2 separate regions of the Homo sapiens genome follow, and region 1 is linked to region 2. The links are contacts of gene promoters, found by promoter capture Hi-C in blood cells and fetal thymus (Javierre and others, 2016). All regions are on one chromosome and are shown on one strand. The core of a region is centred on a gene start or on the middle of the fragment in contact, and the rest is flanking DNA. Distances in the headings are between cores, read along the strand shown. Region 1 holds the start of ATXN10 (ataxin 10). Region 2 holds the start of GTSE1 (G2 and S-phase expressed 1).

The links. Contacts are between HindIII fragments. The CHiCAGO score rates a contact against its expected background, and 5 or more counts as called.
Region 1: a contact is called between the fragment with the promoter of ATXN10 here and the fragment with the promoter of GTSE1 in region 2, in 2 of 17 cell types (total CD4 T cells and fetal thymus). The highest score is 6.5, in total CD4 T cells.

The regions. Positions count from the first base shown.
Region 1 is chr22:45,670,389-45,673,193 of GRCh38, reverse strand. ATXN10 (ataxin 10) reads right to left here and starts at 1,360. Exons shown (of 12, transcript NM_013236.4): 1 at 1,015-1,360. The coding sequence starts at 1,130. RefSeq lists silencers at 728-1,057, 1,388-1,437, 1,498-1,687. The HindIII fragment of the contact is 13,202 bases long and covers 1-2,805 here.
Region 2 is chr22:46,295,545-46,298,335 of GRCh38, reverse strand. It overlaps GTSE1 (G2 and S-phase expressed 1), which reads right to left and starts at 1,466. Exons shown (of 12, transcript NM_016426.7): 1 at 1,405-1,466; 2 at 857-956. The coding sequence starts at 935. It overlaps GTSE1-DT (GTSE1 divergent transcript), which reads left to right and starts at 1,676. Exons shown (of 1, transcript NR_024009.1): 1 at 1,676-2,791. RefSeq lists an enhancer at 949-1,058 and a silencer at 1,209-1,408. The HindIII fragment of the contact is 11,600 bases long and covers 1-2,791 here.

The DNA of each region.
Region 1 (2,805 bases), core at 111-2,610, 630 kb after region 2:
TAGCTGATACATGGGTAACTACCAATCAATGTGTTAAGTGATAATATCAGCTACATTTAGTGCTATGTACAGGTATGTCCTAAGGATTTAATATGCATTATATCTCATTTACTCCTTATGACACTATCACCAGGGAGGTACTGTTCAACTTTACTCCCATTAAATAGACAAGAAAACTGAGGCCCAGAGGACAGAACAAGATCAAACAAGCATTGACTGAGGGCTTCGCACATTTTATATTTTCACGTACTTTATTTCATTTATTCCTCTGTACAATCCAGCAACTAAGCTGTGTATTATAGTCCCATTTTTAGACAAGAATTCTAAGGCCTGGAGAAACTGCACAGTAACACGCAGCTTGCAAGGCCAGGAACCAAATCCACAACTGTCGACTCCTGGGCACCTTCTCTTTTTGCCTGGCTATCTTGCCCCTCAGTGGCATCAGGACTGGACTGGTCTCTCCAGGCCCGTGCTCTTCCACACTGCACAGAGCGCTGCCCCCAGGGCAGATGGTGCAGCCTGGGCTCTAACGCCGAGGAGAAAGGAGTGCCAGTCCCACTCCATGCCTAGAGACTGCCATCCCCGCAACTGCCCAATTCCCGCGTCCGTAACACGGGTCTCTCCCGCTAAAACACACGCTTTATGACTCTGGGGGCCGCGTGGGTCTTGCAGCCAGGGCCTGGCGCAGCCCTCGCACATGACAGGGGAGGCCTAACCGTGTGTTGGGTCAACATCACCGGCACGCCGCGGCAAGGGCTCCCGGGATCGCGGCTTCGCACCCGGACTGGCTGCGGTGGGGGAGCGGGGCGCCCGCCCCAGGCCCCGCGGGGACCCACGAGCACGAGGCGGTGCCTGGGAGTCGGGAGGCCTGGGTGGCGCTCAGGCAGCCCGCGCAGGCCTCGCCCTCCGCGTCTCCAGCGAGGCGGGGGCGGCGCCTGGGTCCAGGCCGGGGCCGCCGCGGGAGTCCCGGCCGCCCTCCCCTGCCCGGGGCAGCCCCCCGGCCGGACCCGTTACCGGTTCCGCTGCTCTTTGAAGAGCGCCGTGAGCGCGCGCAGGGCCTCCAGGTCTTGGATGGGCGCCGGCACCATGACGCCCGACAGCCTGGCAGGCGGCGGCCTGGGCGCCGCCATCTTGCCGCTCACAGCTGGGTCGAGCCTGACGAGGAGGAGGAAGGCGAGGAGGACGAAGGGGGAGGATGACGAGGAGGGAGGAGTAGGATGGCGAGGAGGAAGGGGGAGGCCTCGCCCTACACAGCCCTAACCGCCGCCGCCGCTGCAGCCCGCGCTGCCCTGAAGCTGCGCCGCCGCCGGAGAGCTCTAGGCTGAGCCCAGACTCGCCTCAGGCGGGAGGAGGAGACGGCGCCGCGGGGGAGGGGGCGCCGGCGGAAGTCCCGCCTGAGGGGAGGGGGCGCGGCGGAAGTTCTGGGTGAGAGCGGGGAGGGATGCTGGGGGTGATTGACTGGGAAGCGTCGCAGACGGGGCTCCTCCGAGGGGAGGGGACGCCGGGGGGAGGGGGACCTGTGTTGATGTGGCCGTAACAGGGTCTCGGTCTTGGGAGCGGGTATCGGGAACCAGAGGTTCACCCTGAGAAAGAGGGGCGCGTCCTATAGGAGGGTGCCCGCGGACAGAGGGGTCTCCCCCAGGGGAGGGGATCCGGGGGGTAAGGGGCCTGTGGAGGGTGGGGCCGTAACAAGGTCTCGGTCTTGGGAGCGGGTATCGGGGACAGAGGTTCACCTTGAGGAAGAGGGGCCCTCCTGTGGGAGGGGGCCCGCAGACAGAGTGGTCTCCCCCAGGGGAGGACATTCTGGGTGGAGGGGACCCTCTTGGGAGGAGACGCTGACTGAGGGTCTCGGGAACGAAGGGGGCCGGGCAGAGGCTCCCACTGCTAAGGCTGAAGACCTTGATCCCACTGCTCAAGTGGGTTGATCAGTGCCCCCGCCCGGGTCCACTGGAAGCTGGAGCGGTCTGTCACTAGCTTGCAAGTCTCAGGCCCTGAAAACGCACTTCCCAGTACTTACTGATCATTGCTGATCAATACCAGACCACTTACCAGGCACTTTGCCTCTAGTGAGTATACATTGCTCCAGCTCCTCAAAGCCTTAAAATACCGTTCGAAGTCAAGAAGCTAAGTTACACAGCAATAGGGTTAGAATTGTTTTTTTTCCTAAGGGAAATGAATATATTTCACAGGAATCAGACAAGGCTTCTCTAGCTGGTGTTGATAACTCACATATTTTCTTTCCACTGCCCTTTATTACAGTGTATATACTTTCAACAAAAATTGTTGCTAAGCCCTGCGCTAGGTGCTGGAGATGTAAAGATTAATAAAAGACAGTTCCAAACCTGAAGGAACCTCACAGACTATTGAGAAGGAGAGAAGCAAACATAACTGAGTATAGTTGTGAACTGCTATAACTGTACAAATTGCTGTGGGACCACTTAAAATATATAAATACATACCCTTTACATTCTGCTTGGAGGGTAGGAGTGTGCTTATAACATGGCGCTTTTAACATTCTTTGCTAAATAAAATGTAAAGATAACAATAAACACCACCAGAGTATGCAGAAAAAGTGAATCCTGGTGGGGCATGGTGGCTCATGCCTGTAATCCCAGCACTTTGGGTGGCCAAGGCAGGAGGATTACTTGAGCCCAGGAGGTCGAGGCTGCAGTGAGCTGTGATCACACCACTGCACTCCAGCCTGGGTGGCAGAATGATACCCTGTATCAAAAAAAAAAAAAAAAAAAAAAAAAAAGGAGGGAGGGAAATGAATGCTGCTGCACAAGCAAGTTACTTGATATTGTC
Region 2 (2,791 bases), core at 217-2,716:
ACTTGGTCTCAAAAAGAAAGGATCCTTGGGTAGTGTGAGAAAACTACCCAAGGGATGTCAAAATGCTTTGTGAGGCTGGGTGAGGTGGCTCACACCTATAATCCTAGCACTTTGGGAGGCCGAGGCAGGCAGATTGCCTGAGCTCAGGAGTTCGAGACCAGCCTGGGCAACATGGCAAAACCCCGTCTCTGTTAAAAATACAAAAATGAGCCAGGTGTGGCAGCGGGTGCCTGTAATCCCAGTTACTAGGGAGGCTGAGGCAGGAGAATCCCTTCAACTCAGGAGAGAGAGGTTGCAGTGAGTACAGATCACGCCTTTGCACTCCAGCCTGGGTGAGAGAGCGAGACTCCGTCAATAAATAAATAAATAAATAAATAAAAACGCTTTGAGAGAAAAAGAGGGTGTGGCCTGTAACTCATTCTGTGAAGCTGTACCCTCACCTTGATACCCAAACCAGTCAAAGACACAAGAAGAAAGGGGTTTGGGGCCAGGCTTACTCATTAACATGGTCTCAAAGATCCTAAATAAGTCTTAGCAAACAGAAACCAGCGACAAACAAAAAAGAAAACATCGAATTCAATACAATAAATATTTGAGAGCCCACAAAGTGTTAGGTGCTGTTCAGGGCATGGGAGCACTGCGGTAAATAAAACGGATGAGAATCCTGGCTGTGATGAAACTTAAAATGGGGAGGAGGTGAAAGAAAACCAGAAAACGAAGGCAGATGTCATGTGTTTCACAGGTGCAGAGTACAAGTCGAGCACTTGAGAAAGAATTTCTCAGGGAAACATTAAATCACCCTCCATCTCTACTGAACATCCTGAACAACAACAGCGCCGCAGCAGCAAGGACTTGCCTTCCTTCTTAGGGTCATCCATGTTCACGTCCCCTGCCCGGCAGGCTGAAGGCTCATCGCGGCCGCCGCCTCCTTCCATGGAGAGAGCTGTCAGAAGTCACTGCAGGGTGGAACGGGGCCAGAAAGTGAGTACGTGTCAGGGCCCAGGGCTCCGGCTTCCTTCAGCCCTCGGCTCACAGAGGCAGAGAGAGCTGAAGGCCGCGGCCAGGTCTGGGAGAGGCGGCGCGGGGGCCGCTCTGAAATGATCGCATCCCAGGGGACCCCAGGGCCCGAGTGCCGCCAGGCCGGGAGTCAGCCCGAACGCCATCAGACGAGATAACGGAATTCTCGGCTTCTGGGCCAGAGTGTTGGGGGCTCTGTTTGCCTGGGGGGCAGCCCTAGACCTCCCGGCATCCCCGACCACGGCGCGAGGGGCCTCAGTGACCCCTGCTCGAGCCCAGGCCCGGCTCCTGGCGGGGCGCGGCCCCTCCCCGTCCCGAAAACGGCGGGCACCGCGCCGCACCGGGCCCACCGGGCAAGCCTCGCCCCCGACCCTGACCCCACCTTACCCAAAGCGGCAGACGATGCAGGACGCGCCTCCGGCACGGATTTAAACGCGGCGCCGGGAGACGCGGGTTGCCGATTGGTCGGTTTGAAAAGGGCTCCGAGAGGCGGCGGGCTGGGTGCGTCCTGGGTATTGTAGTCAGGACGCTGGTAAGAAGCGTCCAGTGCGCATGCGCACTGCTTCAGCGCAGCGAATGGCTCCGCACAGCGCCAGGGATCACCCACCCGGAAGTCTGCCCGGCCTGGCCGCCAAGTGTCACTAGGTATCCGCGTCAAGCCGGAACCATGTATAGCAGCTCCTTGTGTGTAGGGAGAAAGTTAAAACTGCCATCTAAGGGTGTCGATGGGAAGACTAAAAGTAGGCTCACCCACCTGCTGTGAAGCAGCGCGCGCGAGCTGTTACTAACAGTAGTGAAAAGCCGGGATCCCTGCCCCCGAGGCACGCACTGGGGCGCCGGCTGACCCAGAGACCTGAGGGAGACTCATTGCCGGAGCTGCACAGCCTGTGGGGCTGGAGGGGAACCGTCGCCCTTGGCGGGCTTCCCCAACCGCCAAGGCCTGAGGACCGCCGAGGGCGTGGCGGGAGCCTGTCCTCGGTTTTACAGGCCGGCTGGGGAGCTGCGTTGGAGGAGAGAGCCAGGGGCTGGGGCCCGGTGATGGAGCCTGCCTTGGGGAGTGCATGTGTTGGAGAGAGGTGGGAAGCAGATAGGATAACCCTGACCTGAGCCATGGAGACGCAAGGACAGGACTGGTAGACGGGTCAGTGGGCAGCAACTTAAGACTGACCTCGCTTGAGCCTTTGCCTGCGAACGAGGTATAATACCCACCTCGGGGGCTTGAGGATCAAATGAGGGGCTCCACCCACGGCAAAGTGTCACTAAGCGGGATGGAGGAGGATGCAGGAAGAGGAGTCTGGGAGGACCCGCTCTGAAAAGGATGGAACTCGAGAGCACCATTTTCAGGGACGAAGATAAGCTGTTTATTTGGGGCAGGCTGTGGGGAGAGCTGTGCAGCAAACAGCCACCCGGGGCCCAGGGCAGAGGCCTTCCAGGCTGGCTCGGGCACTTCTGGGTCCCATGTCCCTGGTTTTGCATCATCCATACCAATCACTCCATGTTGCTATGTTCCTTCACCAGAAGACTGGGGGCTCAAAAAGGGCAGGGCAGCCCTCACTCACCAGTCTCCCCAGCCTCACCCAGCTCAGCACAGGGCACCAGGCAGGGGCTGAGAGTGCTGGGGTAGGTGGGTGTGGTCAAACAGCTTGGAAAGAGTTTGGCCTGCTCATTGCATTCCCCTCAGCTCATCCTGGGGATGTCTGCTCATGGGAGAATGGCAGAGGGATCCCCAACAGTCATTCCTGATACTCCTCTCCCTGTATCATGTCAGCACATA